2 separate regions of the Homo sapiens genome follow, and region 2 is linked to region 1. The links are contacts of gene promoters, found by promoter capture Hi-C in human tissues and cell types (Jung and others, 2019). All regions are on one chromosome and are shown on one strand. Each heading gives the region's core, a stretch centred on a gene start or on the middle of the fragment in contact. The rest is flanking DNA. Distances are from core to core; before and after follow the strand shown. Region 1 holds the start of ZNF250 (zinc finger protein 250). Region 2 has its middle 24 kb from the start of ZNF16.

The links. The method cuts DNA at HindIII sites, captures the fragments that hold promoters and counts their contacts. A contact is called where the count stands out against the background at its distance.
Region 2: a contact is called between a fragment that was not itself captured here and the fragment with the promoter of ZNF250 in region 1, in 4 of the 25 tissues and cell types used here (H1 embryonic stem cells, lymphoblastoid cells, mesendoderm cells and 1 more).

What each region holds. Positions count from the first base shown.
Region 1 is chr8:144,895,725-144,902,928 of GRCh38, reverse strand. It overlaps ZNF250 (zinc finger protein 250), which reads left to right and starts at 1,476. Exons shown (of 6, transcript NM_001109689.4): 1 at 1,476-1,530. LOC124902042 reads right to left here and starts at 1,305. Exons shown (of 1, transcript XM_047422534.1): 1 at 648-1,305. The coding sequence starts at 1,247. The coding sequence ends at 648. RefSeq lists silencers at 543-622, 1,683-1,792 and enhancers at 319-922, 923-1,525, 1,526-2,130. The HindIII fragment of the contact is 10,274 bases long and covers 1-5,305 here.
Region 2 is chr8:144,971,239-144,978,739 of GRCh38, reverse strand. It overlaps the pseudogene ZNF252P. Among named protein-coding and RNA genes, the nearest start is that of ZNF16, 24 kb to the right of the region's middle. The HindIII fragment of the contact is 3,341 bases long and covers 145-3,485 here.

The DNA.
Region 1 (7,204 bases), core at 227-2,726:
TGCCATTCCACACCTTACCATAAATGGCCAAGTTTAAAGCCCTCCTATTGAAACCTGCCCGCCAGCACTTCTGTGTGCCAACCTGTCCTCCCTAACCCGTCGACTTTGACCTAAGCCCACATGTGGGAGCCACATTTGAGCCATGCCTCCGGTCTCCTTGGCCGTCGACCTTGAAATAATAAAGCCTTCTCTTTTCTCAAAAACTGGTGCCACCGTTTTGGCTTCTAGTGCGCCAGGCAACGGGCCCATTGCTCGAAACGCGCGTGGTGGATGGTAGCTCCGTGAAGTGCGAACCCCTGCCCGCAAGGGCTGCTAAGTTCGCTGAAGCGTAGCACAGACTTCGCGTCTGCCTGGTGCGCGGCAAGTACGGAATTATCGCCACATCCTCCCGGCCTCCGCTCCCAACAGCACGGGCCGGGCACTCGCTTCAAGCCTACCCCCTAACCTTAAGCCTTCCCCGCCGCCCCCACGCAGCCCCCAGCCCCGCCCTGTGGGGAAGCCTCTTGAGAGTCTGGGCCCGCCCACGCGCCCAATGGACGACGCGGACCTGACCTTCGGGAGTGGGGCCAGCAGAAGGTGGACTAGGCGTCAGCCTTCCCGTCCCCTGACACCGCTCCAAACCAGCCCCACCCTCCCTGCCGCGGCTGTCAGGTCCTGGGCTGTGCCCGAAGCCTCCACACGGGTGTGGCCCGCGCCCTCGTGAAGGCCCGCCCCTCTCCCCCAGGTGCGCGGTGTAAACACACCAAAAAGCAAACACCAGGGCCGAGTGGGCGACGGAGACGGTCGCTGTTCAGTGACGCCCCCTGTCGGGAGCACGCCGGGCCGGACACAGCGAAGAGCGGCTGCGCCTCGGACCTCGCAGCACTCAGCCTCCTAAGTGGGAGGAATAACCTCACGCAAGTCATCAAACAAGAGGACTTCAGTGTTGCAACGAAGGAAGAGAAAGGGCCCCTGAGAAGGCGACATTCGCACTGCAGCGGCGCAGGGACCAGCCAGGCGGCTGAGGGCAAGGTCGTTCCCAGCAGCGGGAACCGCAAGGGCAAAAGGCTCGGAGGGGGGAACGAGCTCGAGTTCCAGGACGGCCGAAGCCAGCGCAAGTCGAGGAGGGACTGCGGGGCCGGCAGGGGTGTCCTCCACAGGGCGACGGCGGCAGGAGCTCGGGAACCGGGACTGCGAGCGGGTAAGGCTCGGCGATGGGCTGTAACCTCCGCGCCCGGAAGTGCGGCCGGGGAGCCGGCCGGGCCCATTGCCCAGAGGTGTTCGGCCCCTCTAGGGATCGCGGAGGTCTGGCTCTCGGTGGCTCCTGAGAGCTCCCTGCAGTCGGTCACCGAGAAAGGCTTCGGGCGGGCAGGCGGGCCAAATGACGTAAACATGCTTGCCCTCCAGGATTGGCGAACTCGGCTGTGGGGGCGGGAACTGAGGGGCAGGAGCCCCCAGGGATTGGCGGCTGCGCAGACGGGGCGGGGCAGCCCTTTGTCTGAAGGTGCTGCGGGATGCCGTTCCTTCGCGCGTGAGGCTGCGGCTCTGACGGTGAGTGGGGGGCGCGTGTCGTCGCCGGCCAGGACCCTCTCCCATCACGGACACCGGAGCCGGTGCGTCCTCCACACGAATCGTGGACTCTTCCCCGCGAGCACGCACTGCCTCCTGCGTTTACGCTGGTCCCCTCCCCTCACGGACGCGCGGCGGCCTCCTCCCCAGGGCCAAGGCCGCGCCCTCTCCCCCGTTCGGGGTTCCCACCCTTCCCCTCGCCCGGCCTTGGACCCCCTCAGGCCCTCCCGCACCCCCGTCCGCCTCGGACGGCCTCGGTCCCTTCCCCGCCCCTACCCCCTTGGGCCCCGTCAGACCGGCGTCCCTCCCACCTTGGATCTCCTCAGATCTCCGGCCTTCCTCCCCCTCGTGCCCTCCCGCGCGCTTTCTACCGGGCGCCGTGCCTAGGGCCAGGATGGCCGGAGTCCTAGGGGCGCAGTCCGGACCCCCGGGCCGCTCTTCTTGCCGCGCTCCTCGGGGTCTCGCGTCCCCTGGGATGGGCCCGGAAAGGGGTGGGGAGCTTCCCCAAAATATAAAAATGGAGGTTTTTTCTGTTTGATGCACATCCTGAGGAGCCCCATGAAGACCCCGGCGGCGCACCGGGAGCGCCACTTTACTTAGCTATAAAAAGTCTTCCCGCGTCAAGACGAAAACGAGCTGCTTTCGTTTCAGCAGTTGGTCGAGTGTGCTACTTGCCGGGTGTCTTATCCTCTCCCCATTTTGCTGTCGATGCTGTCTTTTCTGTTACTGTGTTAGAGCCCTATTTTAATGAATGAGCCCAACTCTTTGCAACACAGCAAATATTTTCCTTGTTGTTTATTGGCTTAATTTTAAAATTGAAAATAATATGCAATACTTCTTCTAATGCAGGCATGTCAGAAATATATAAAAGTCATCCCCCCCGACACTCTGCCAGTGTATGAAGAGGCAGGAGCTGTGAACAGTTTCAGAATTTTTGAATGCCGTTAGAGCTTTAGGCACGCACGCACACCCTTTTTTCTGTCATCAAAGGGAAGCTGGTGTCGTTTGACTAACACCAGGGGCGGCAGGGGGCGCTCCACTCGTCCTCCGCCGGGTGGGTACTCGCAGATTTTTCAGTTCGTAACTTGTCTTCTGGACATAGGTTTCTCTGTCCGGTGGTCTCTACGAAGTGGGTAAGGGTGGGAGATTGCCATTGACATTCCCGCCCTGGACGGGACTCTGGTCCTGTGGGCTTTGACAGGTCACTGCATTCCTGCCAGGTCGACGTTTTGCGTTTATTGGTGAGATTGAAATCCCTTCATTTGTGTTTTCGCCATTTGTATTTCTTTGTGATTTGCCAGCTCATATTTTTTTCCATGTATGTTGAAAACATGCTTCTCAATTTGTCTTTTGACTCTGATTATGGTGTTTGATTCTGGTTTGGGCTTTTTCAAAATAGAAAATTTAAAATTTTTAGGAGTCAAATATTTTGCCTTAAGGCATTTTGGGCTTTGTGCTGTGTTTTAAAGGGCTTTCCCCACTCCAAGATTATTTTTAAAATAAACTCTTGTTTTTCTGTGGTACTTGTAAAATGTTGGATACGTCTGGAATTTATTTTATTGTGGGGTGAGTTTGGAATACAGCTTTTGGAATTCCTTTTTTCCTCTAAATCATAGCCATTTCTAACACCATTGATCTTCCCATTGATTTGAAAAACCGCTTTTGTCATATACTAAATTGTTGCATGCCTTTAGGTCCATTTTTGGAGTTTGGTAGCTTTGATGTGCATATGATTTTGATTTATAAGCTGCAGATCTGTGGAGCTCTGCTTTTTGCTTTTGGTATTTTGCTTAGAACAGCCCTTCCCACATGAAATAATAAAAATATACCTGTATTTTTATTAAAGTTCTTTTTTATTGAATATAATAATTATACACATTTATGGGATACATGTGATATTTTGATACAAGGATAGCATACAATGTATAATGATCAAATCAGGGTAATTAGGATGTCTGTCACCTCAAACATCATTTTTTGTGTTGGAAACATTTCACATCTCTTCTTCTGGTTGTTTTGAAATATACAATAAATTATTAACTGTAGTCATCTTACCGTGGTATCAAACACTGGAACTTATTCATTATATCTGACTGTATGTTTGTAGTCATTAACCCACTTCTATTCATCTCATACCTCCCCCCAACCCCACCCTTCCCATCCTCTGGTAATCATCATTCTACCCTCTACCTCCATGGGACCAACTTTTTTAACTCACACATACGAGTGAAAACATGCAATATTTGTCTTTCTGTACCTGGCTTATTTCAATTAACATAATGACCTCCAGTTCCATCCCTGTTGCTGCAAATGACATAATTTCCTTATTTTTATAGTTGAATCATATTCCATTGTGTACATATACCACATTTTCTGTATCCATTTATTTGATGTACATTTCGGTTGATTCCATATCTTAGCTATTGTGAATAGTGCTGCAGTCAACATGTATGTTCAGATATCTTTTTGATATACTGACTTCCTTTCTTTTGGGTATATAACAAGCAGTGGAATTGCTGGGTCATATGGTGGATCTATTTTTAGTTTTTTTCATATGCTTGTTGGCCATACATATTGTCTTTTTTTGATAAATTACTCAGATCATTTACCTGTTTTTAAATCGGATTAGTTGTCTCTTTCTATTGAATTGTTTGACTCCCTTCTGCATTCTGGTTATTAATCCCTTATCGGATGGATAGCTTGTAAATATTTTCTTCCATTCTGTATGTTGTTTCTTCACTCTGCTGATTGTTTCCTTTCCTGTACAGAAGCTTTTTAGTTGATGTAATTCCATTTGTCTAGTTTGCTTTTGTTCCTGTGCTTTTGAGGTCTTACCCAAAAAATGTTTTCCCACATGAGTGTCCTCAAGTGTTTCCTTGATGTTTTACAGTTTTCTTTATAGGGACTCTGCATTTCTAAGGTTTAATCTTGTTTCTTGTTGCTATTTGTTGAATAGATTTTTTTCCATTCATATTTTCTGATTAGGTGTTACTGGTATATAAGAAAGCTATCAGTTTGGTTGTTTTTTTGTTTTGTTTTGTTTTGTTTTGTTTTGTTTGTTTGTTTATTTGCTTTTTTTCTTTTGAGATGGAGTCTCACTCTGTTGCCCAGGCTGGAGTGCAATGGCGCGATCTTGGCTCACTGCAAACTCCACCTCCCAGGTTCAAGCAATTCTCATGCCTCAGCCTTGGGAGGAGCTGGAATTACAGGCACGTGCCACCACACCCAGCTAATTTTTGTATTTTTAGAAGAGACGGGGTTTCACCATGTCACCCAGGCTGGTCTTGAACTCCTGACTGTTGGGATCAGGCCCCCCCAAAATCTGGCTATAAACTGGCCCCAAAACCGGCCATAAACAAAATCTCTGTAGCACCGTGAAATGTTCATGATGGCCATAATGCCCACGCTGGAAGGTTGTGGTTGTGGGTTTACCGGAATGAGGGCAAGGAACACCTGGCCGGCCCAGGGTGGAAAACCCCTTAAAGGCATTCTTAAGCCACAAACAATAGCATGAGCGATCTGTGCCTTAAGGACATGCTCCTGCTACAGTTAACTAGCCCAACCTATTCCTTTAATTCGGCCCATCCCTTCGTTTCCCATAAGGGATACTTTTAGTTAAATTAATATCTATAGAAACAATGCTAATGACTGGCTTGCTGTTAATAAATACGTGGGTAAATCTCTGTTCAGGGCTCTCAGCTCTGAAGGCTGTGAGACCCCTGATTTCCCACTTCACACCTCTATATTTCTGTGTGTGTGTCTTTAATTCCTCTAGCGCCGCTGGGTTAGGGTCTCCCCGACCGAGCTGGTCTCAGCACCTGACCTCAGGTGATCCACCCACCTTGGCCTCCCAAAGTGCTGGGATTACAGGCATGAGCCACTGTGCCCGACCAGAAAGCTATCAATTTGGATACATATTTCTGATCATTAATTCTGGAAAGGTTGCAGGTTAGGGTTAGTTTAGGTTAGTTAGGGTTAGTTTAGATTAGGTCAAGTTTAGCAGTGTTTCGCCTTGTGCTCACAAGTGGCTCAGAAGCTGCCTCTCTTGAAAGTGCTTTCACCCTAGCGGGTAGGGGCTCCTTGGTGATGAAGAGGGAGCAGTGCTTGTTAGCAGAAAGTCCAGGGAGTGAGGATGATGAGGAGCAGGAGAAGGCAGTGGCCCTGGAGGAGATCCTGGAAGCTCATCCCAGATCAGGAGACTCCAAATGTGCCTGTCCCAGTGTGTGACCATGTGCAGGGTCCTCTGGAATGACAGGCACACTGCTTTGTCACATCAAGACAGTCAGGAATTCCAAAAAGAGTGATAGGAATGTCTCACTGCGATGTGGCTTTTGATCACCTAAAGAAAACTGGAAAGCCAGTTGCTGCTAATAACGTTGATCTATTGTTTTTGTTTTGGATTATTCCTTAGGGAAATTTTCAAGATTGAAATTCCTGAGTTTGAAAAATTAGCTCCTTATGCTGCCACCTTTGTAACCAGTGGGTGGGAGGGATCATTGCTCAGCCAGTGCCCTGAGTGGGTGTTCTTTATATTGCCCATTTGTTAGCTGTTGGCATGGCCTCAAGAGGGGGCTCCTCAAACTCCACTTCCAGTATTCTGTGGCGGTGATCTCCAGCCTGTCCCAGCCCCTGGCCCTGGAGCCTGGCATCTATAGAGGACTCGTCATTAGCCTGTCTTAATTTTTTAAAACTGTCCACATCATCCTCCTTCCCTGCCTGAACTGTGTTCTCATGGAGCAAAGCTTGGAGTTGGACGTCAGAATCCCGTGAAGTGTGGATGGAGTGTGTTGTTAAAAGCCAGTTTCTGGCACCCCCGATAGCTCTTACATTTTCCTGTCTTGAGTATGCAAGGTTTAGGTTGAGGTCCATGGTGTTTGCCTGGCCTGGTATCCTGTTACAGGCTCGTTCCAGGAAACTGAAACCTTTATCTGCCATAGTGTAAGTAAGGAAAAAATTTAAACTAGTTAATACCACTTTTAAAATGTATTTTGTTCATATTTTTTTTTAATTTTTATTTATTTATTTATTTATTTTGAGACAGGGATTCATTCTGTTGCCCAGGGTGGAGTGTAGTGGTGCAGTTACAGCTTACTGCAGCCTTGACCTCCTGGGCTCAAGCAATCTTCCCATCTCAGCCTCCAGAGTACCTAGGTCTACAAACCAGCTAATTTTTTAAATTTTTTTATAGAGACGGGGTCTCACTATATTGTCCAGGGTGTTCTTGAACTCCTGAACTCAAGCAATTCTCCCACCTTGGCCTCCCAAAGTACTGGGATTATAGGTGTGAGTCACCATGCCCAGCCATTTTTGTTCATTTATTACCAGAATACAATCAGACTTTGTGATAGGATTTTTTTTTTTTTTTTTTTTTTGAGACAGAGTCTTGCTCTGTTATGCAGGCTGGAGTGCAGTGGCACAATCTTGGCTCACTGCAACCTCTGTCTCCCAGGTTCAAGCTATTTTCTTGCCTCAGCCTCCTGAGTAGCTGGGATTACAGGTGCCTGCCACCATGCCTGACTAACTTTTTGTATTTTTAGTAGAGACGGGGTTTCACTATGTTGGCCAGGCTGGTCTCGAACTCCTGACCTTTTGATCCGCCCGCCTCGGCCTCCCAAAGTGCTGGGATTACAGGTATGAGCCACTGCGCCTGGCCGAT
Region 2 (7,501 bases), core at 566-3,065, 75 kb before region 1:
CATGCTTCTCTTTTTCCTCTCCCCAATGGGGTCATATTTGTTGCTTTTTTTTTTATTTGCATTCTGAATATCAGTATTATCCTAGAAGATATTTGTTTGATACAAATATTTCTGTTTATTCTCTAATTCTTTCTTCCATAGTAAAATGCAAGCGATTCACTTTTTTTTTCTTTTTCATTCTTTCAGGCTGTGATTCTAGGATTGAAAAAGAGGAAATGATTCCAAAGCAGGACATTTCTGAAGAATTGGAATCCCAGAGAGCAAAATCAGAAGATCATGTAAGGAATATTTTTAAGGAAACTGAAGAGATGAGTAAAACTGAGGGAAAGTTAGAGAATTGCTGGAGAAAATATGCAGTAGAAGGAGTTAAGAACTCATTCTCCCAGAAGAGCAATTTCAGAGAAATTACCATGAGGTATGTGAAAACCCTCTCTAGAGAGAATGGCCAGAAGTTCAATGCTGTTGGAGAAAACTGCATTACAGACTCAAATCCTGCCAAACATCTTAGAGGGTCTAGAGAGGAGAGTCTCCATCCAAGTGTGTCAAGTGTAGAAAACTTGCAACAACATGAGGACCTCATTAACCTCCAGAGTTTCCAATTAGGAGAAAGAGCCTATCAGACAGATGTGTTAGTGAAAGTGCCCAGACAGAGCTCAGTTCTTAGTGAGAATCAGAGGATGAATAATCCAGAGAGATGGTTTGAGAGTACTGGGTGTGGAAAAACTTACAATCAGAACAGAGCTTTTAACCAGCACCAGAGATTTCATAGTGGAGAGAAGACCTATGAGCACAATGAATGTGGAAAAGCTTTCAGTTGGCCCTCTATCCTCAGTAAACATCAGAGAATCCACACTGGTAAGAAACTCTACACATGTGAGGATTGTGGCAAATCTTTCAGTGTTCACTCATACTTTATTCAGCATTGTAAAATTCACACTAGAGAAAAACCCTATGAGTGTATTAAATGTGGGAAAGCTTTTAGTACACATTCATCTTATGTTCAACATCTAAAAATTCATACAGGAGAGAAACATCATGAGTGTAATCAGTGTGGGAAAGCCTTTAGTCATAGCTCTAATCTAATTCATCATCAGAGAATTCATAGTGGAGAGAAACCTTACAAGTGCAAAGAATGTGGGAAAGCCTTCAACAGACAATCAAACCTTATTCAGCATCAGAGAATTCATTCTGGAGAGAAACCTTATGACTGTAAGGAGTGTGGCAAAGCCTTCAGTACACAATTATTTCTCATTCAGCATCAGAGAATTCATACAGGAGAAAAGCCCTATGAATGTAATGAATGTGCAAAATCCTTTAGCCTGAACCGAACTCTTACTGTCCATCAGAGAATTCACACTGGAGAGAAACCTTATAGGTGTAATGAATGTGGGAAATCCTTTAGTCAATGCTCACAAGTTATTCAACATAAGAGAATTCACACTGGAGAGAAACCTTATATCTGCAATGAGTGTGGAAAATCATTTGGTGCTCGTCTATCCCTTATCCAGCATCAGAGAATTCACACTGGAGAGAAACCTTATGGTTGTAGTGTGTGTGGGAAAACCTTTAGTCAAAAGGGACATCTTATTCAGCATCAGTGAATTCACACAGGAGAGAAACCCTATGAATGTAGTGAGTGTGGAAAAGCTTTCAGCCAGAGTTTTAATCTTATTCACCATCAAAGAACACACAATGGTGAGAAGTCCTATGAATGTAATGAATGTGATAAAGCCTTCAGTTTGCTTTCTTCCCTTGTTCAACATCAGAGAATACATAATGGAGACAAACCCTATGAGTGTCACAAATGTGGGAAGGCCTTTAGCCAGGGGTCACACCTTATTCAGCATCAGAGGAGTCACATTGGTGAGAAACCCTATGAGTGTAATGAGTGTGGGAAAACCTTTGGGCAGATATCCACCCTAATTAAGCATGAGAGAACACACAATGGAGAGAAGCCCTATGAGTGCAGTGACTGTGGGAAGGCCTTCAGCCAGAGTGCACACCTTATCCACCATCAAAGAATTCACACTGGAGAGAATCCCTATGAGTGCAGTGAATGTGGGAAGGCCTTCAATGTTTGTTCCTCTCTCATTCAGCATCACAGAATTCATACTGGTGAGAAACCTTATGAATGTAGTGACTGTGGCAAGGCGTTCAGTCAGCATTCACAATTTATCCAACATCAGAGAATTCACACTGGAGAGAAACCCTACATGTGCAATGAGTGTGAGAAATCCTTCAGTGCATGCTTATCCCTTATCCAACACAAGAGAATTCACACTGGAGAGAAACCCTATGTATGTGCCAAATGTGGAAAATCCTTCTGACAAAGCTCTCACCTTATTCAACATCAGAGAATTCACAGTGGGGAGCAACCTCATACGTGTAATCGATGTGAAAAAACCTTCAGTTAGAGAATAACTCTTAGTAGTCATGAGAAAATCCATACAATTCACATTAGAGAGCAAGTCTATGAATGTAGTAAGTGTGGGGAACTCTAGCGCACAGTCATCTTTCATTCAACATTGTACAGTTCACAGTGGAGAGTAACTGATTAGTCTATAAATTCTTCACAGTTATACATTATATGAGAGTCATACTCGTGAGAAATGAGTCACTTTATGGTTTTCCTTTTGGAGATTCAGCTCTTAAGGGATTTCACTCTCCCAGTGAGCTGCTAACTAAAGGCAGGCTGCTGAAGTATATAGCAGCAATCCCACAATAGCACACCTTGCTTCAGATTCAGAGGATGAGCCCCCTTCTTGAGCCCTGTAGATATGTGAAACTTAATTATTTAGATGCATTTCATGGCACCAGACCCTAAGGTACAGTTAGGTATTTCACTGGAGACCACTTACTTTGCTTTGCTTTGCTTTTTTTTTTTTTTTTTTTTGTATGATTTATTTCAACTTCAAAGAAAGTAGTTGAGATCCTTGCACTTCCAAGTGTGATGGAACCAGGCTAGGGTTTTCTTTGTTTGTTTGGGCCTCTTCAAAACGTTTTTATTCTGTTATAAGGAATATGATACCTTAAGCTTCAATTCACAGGGAAGAGAAACATGATTATAAGCAAAAGTTTGTCAAGGAATAAGGTGAGTCTTTGTGTAGATTAAAATAGTTGAGACCTTGCTAAAAAGTCAGATAACACTGTAATCCACCTCCAGGTTTCCAAGAGTTAAGACGCTGCCAGCAAGGAGCTTGCAGTCTTGTAGCTGGCCCAATATATCCAACTAATTCAAAATGGGAAATTGTACATTTTACTTAAACAGGATTTGGTAGATGGGTCTTCTAGATATGTTGTCATGAAGAAAAATCAGGAAAATGTCCAAGGGTGGGAGCCTGTGGCTTATGGCTTCACTTACCCATCACAGATAGCTATGTTACACTGCAAGAACAGAGTTCATGGCTTTTCCTGAGGTGGCTGGAAACCTTAATCTCCTGAAGTTAAGTCAAAACTTAAATGTCAATTCACCCAGCTCTCTTGCCTGCAGGCTGATCCAGGGACTTAGAGCTTGTTACCCAGTTACAACTTCTTCTAGAGAAGAACTTTTAAGAAGGAAGCAAAAAGAAATTCAGTTTCCCCCAAGGATCTCTTCTTTGAGGTTCCATCAAGAGATGACAAAAGGAGGCTGGGCGCGGTGTCTCACACCTGTAATCCCAGCACTTTGGGAGGCTGAAGTGGGCAGATCACGAGGTCAAGAGATCAAGACCATCCTGGCCAACATGGTGAAACCACATTTCTACAAAATGCAAAAATTAGCTGGGCATGGTGGTGCACGCCTGTAGTCCCAGCTACTTGGGAGGCTGAGGCAGGAGAATTGCTTGAACCCAGGAGGCGGAGGTAGCAGTGAGCCAAGATTGCACCACTGCATTCCAGCATGGCCACAAAGCAAGACTCCAAAAAATATATATATATATGACAAAAGGGTTAGGAAGCTTTTCCTCTGAGGCCCACGATTACACAACCAAATCAGAAAATAATATTTTTTTTGTTTTAAACCTGTTTACATAAGATGGAGGTGTTTACTTAACTAAGAACCTCGGTATTTACTCAAATCCGGTTTTGGGTTTTATGGCTAAAACATTTCTCCAGATTAACCTTATCAGTTTGGAATATGTTTTTATTTTCCATTAAATATTTCATCCAAATCATACTGAATTTTATTTATCATGGCTTTTAATGTTCTCTATTCAAGTCAAATTTCTGTTTCCTAATTACTTGGCTTGGTGATGGCATTAATATTGGTTGGGAGCTAGATGGTCTCTGCTCTATTTGATGATTGGCATAGAGCAATCATACACTTGGTACTTCCTAGCATTTTTTTTTGAGACAGTATCATGCTGTATCATGTTGCACAGGGTGGAGTGCAGTGGTGCAGTCATAGCTCACTGTAACCTTGAACTCCTGGGCTCAAGTGATTCCCCTGCCTCAACTTCATGAGTAGCAGGGACTACAGCTGTGTACCACCACACCGGCCTCTCCTGGCTTCTTAACCACTTACATTAAAATTGAGAGGAGAAAGGCATTTTCAGTTTCTTTAGTTAATAAAAAGAAGCCATTTCTGGAGGAGTTTTATGCCTGTACCAGCAGAGGTTCAGCCTTCCAGGAATCTCATCATGATCCATACTGCTGACACAGGCCTTTGTCACCTGAAGCATTCTTAAAATAAGGAGACTGACATTAAACAGGACAATTGTGAACTCCACTTTGTAAGCATCATACATATCTTACAACTCATTCTGAAGACTCCTTTATTCTTGCTCTTCCCAGAGAGCTACTGTGTTTAGTCATGCTCACTGCACTCACAAGAGAAAAAGAGTAAGTGGCATATTTGCAGGTGTTGATGGTTACAAGAGCATTTTTACTTTTTCCTCCATGTTTGTTCTGCAGCATTTCCATTGATGCATGCTATTGTAGACTTCTTAGGTTGACCTTGGCCTTGACCTCCACCACTAGCTCATGACCCAAAACTGAAGATGTGCATCAGAAAGGGACAGATTTGGTCTTTCTGCTGTAAAAGATATTCTGCCTTAGTGCCTGCTAATTTGTTGTGCATAGTCCTGTGCTGCCAATCTTCCCCACCAATTGTTAAGGTTAATGTGTGTTTTATATGTGTATTCACAAACATTAAAATGTAATCAGTGGATTCCATTATTGCCCATTTTCATGTAAGGTGGGAGGCACTTTGTATGGTTGGGAATCTGTAAGATCTTTAGGACTAAAACTCCTGCCTCTAATCCCAATTTATGAGGCCCTGACTCTCCAGGCAGCATGACTTAGTTGGATTTTTCTCTGCCACGAAACCTGCCAAGGCTTCTTCATCACCCAAAACCCTCCCATGACCAACCTGTATGAAAAGAGGGGCAAAGGTCATTATTAATCACAGACATGCAAAATGATATTACAAGATGTCATTTTACCCTCACTAGGTTGGCAAAAATTAAAGATCTGACAGAGAATGACACCAAATATATTTAGCAACAGTTACTCTCATACGCGGCTGATAGGAGTGGAAATTGGTATGACACATTGGAAAATATTTTGGCATTATTAATACAGTTAAAAATTAGCCCTGGCCAGATGCACTGGCTCACACCTGTAATCCCAGCACTTTGGGAGGCCAAGGCAGGTGGATCACCTGAGGTCAGGAGTTTGAGGCCAGCCTGGCCAACACGGCAAAACCCTGTCTCTACTAAAATAATTAGCCAGGTGGTGTGGTGGGAGCCTGTAATCCCAGCTACTCAGGAGGCTGAGGCAGGAGAATCGCTTGAACCTGGGAGGCGGGGGTTATAGTGAGCTGAGATCGCGCCCCTGCACTCCAGCCTGGGCGACAAAGCGAGACTTCGTCTCAAAAAAAAAATTATGTAACCCACAACCCAGTTCCACTCCTGCACATACATGTTGGGGATGTACTTGCATGAGAACTAGAAGATGTGTCCCAAAATGTTTAATAGCAGCTGTTCCTGTAATAGCAACAAAAAAAAAAAAAGAAAAAAAAACAAGTCCAGTGTTCATGGAGAGGGGGAGAAAAGAAGTTTGATTGTAAGTATAATATAGCAGAAAACTACGTCAAAATCAATTACCTGCAGCTACACACATTATTCTTAAAGCTGTCACTTTGCAGGGGAGTGTGGATTGTTCCCAATATCGACCAACTTTGATTGCTTCCTGTAGTGAAACTCCAGGAGACCTGGGAAATGAGGGAAAAGTGTGACCTGAGAGAGAGAGTGCCAAATAATTGGAAGATTTTTCCAGCTTACTGTTGGCAGAAGTGTGGGTGATATGAAAGGGAGCAGATTCTAAGGCTGTTCAACTAGAGATAATGTAATGTTGGATTGGACTGGGTTTGTTATATGAGTGCACACATGGCAGGCTGTGGATTCACTGTGCTAGTTGCAGTAGCAGCTTGTTAATGGAAGTCTATATTTGGTCATGGCCTCCATTGAGTGAGGCTGACATGCAGAATTGCCTGATTTTACAACAGAGAATGGATTCAAAGGTTCAGGAGGTGCAAGAGGGCACTCCTTTCACCCAGGCTTAGAGAAGTGCATTGATGAGGGAATAGTAACGTCCAGGAAAGACTCTGTAGTGGCTGTTTTATATAGTCTATCAAAGGAAGTAGGAGAGACTGTTATGAAAATGGATTTAGGCTGGGCGCAGTGGCTCACATCTGTAATCCCAGCACTTTAGAGGCCAAGGCAGGTGGATCACTTGAAGTCAGGAGTTTGAAACCAGCCTGGACAACATGGTGAAATGCCGTCTGTACTAAAAATACAAAAATTAGCCAGGCAGGGTGGCAGGTGCATGTAAATCCCAGCTACTCGGGAGGCTGAGGCAGGAGAATCACTTGAACCTGGGAGATGGAGGCTGTAGTCAACCAAGATCACGCCACTGCACACCAGCCTGGGTGACAGAGCAAGACTCCCCTCAAAAAAAAAAAAAAAAGAGGAAGGGAGGGAGGGGGAGAGAGAGAGAAGGAAGAAAGAAAAAGGAAAGGGAAGGAAGGAAGAAAGGGGAAAGGAAAGAGAGGAAGGAAAGAAAAAGGAAAGAAAAGAGAAGGAAAGAAAGAAGAGAAAGAAAAGAGGATTTAACTCAGTGGGAATGGTCAGGACCAGATGGCAGCATGTAACCCTGTCATAGACAGGGAAGTTGTCACTGTAACAGGCCCAGGGCCACAACAGTAATGAGAATGGTTTGACCATAGAGGTTTTGACCCTGAGTAATGATGATGGTGACTATGGACTGAAATAGGTAGACCGCCCACTAAAGTCTTTATCAGTATCAGTGAGTCATTAAGCCTTTACAGACACCTGACTTGGATCAGCACAACAGTCATCGACCTTCACTTACTTCCTAGGCTTGAGCCAGTTCAGACCTAGAACCTCATGAAACAAGAGGAGGCTAGATTTCCCTTGAAAGGTCTTGCTACACTTTCCAAATTTTATGCTATAAATCTTATCCCCTTTGCCAAAGGGAATGTGGACATTTACCAGGGTAACTA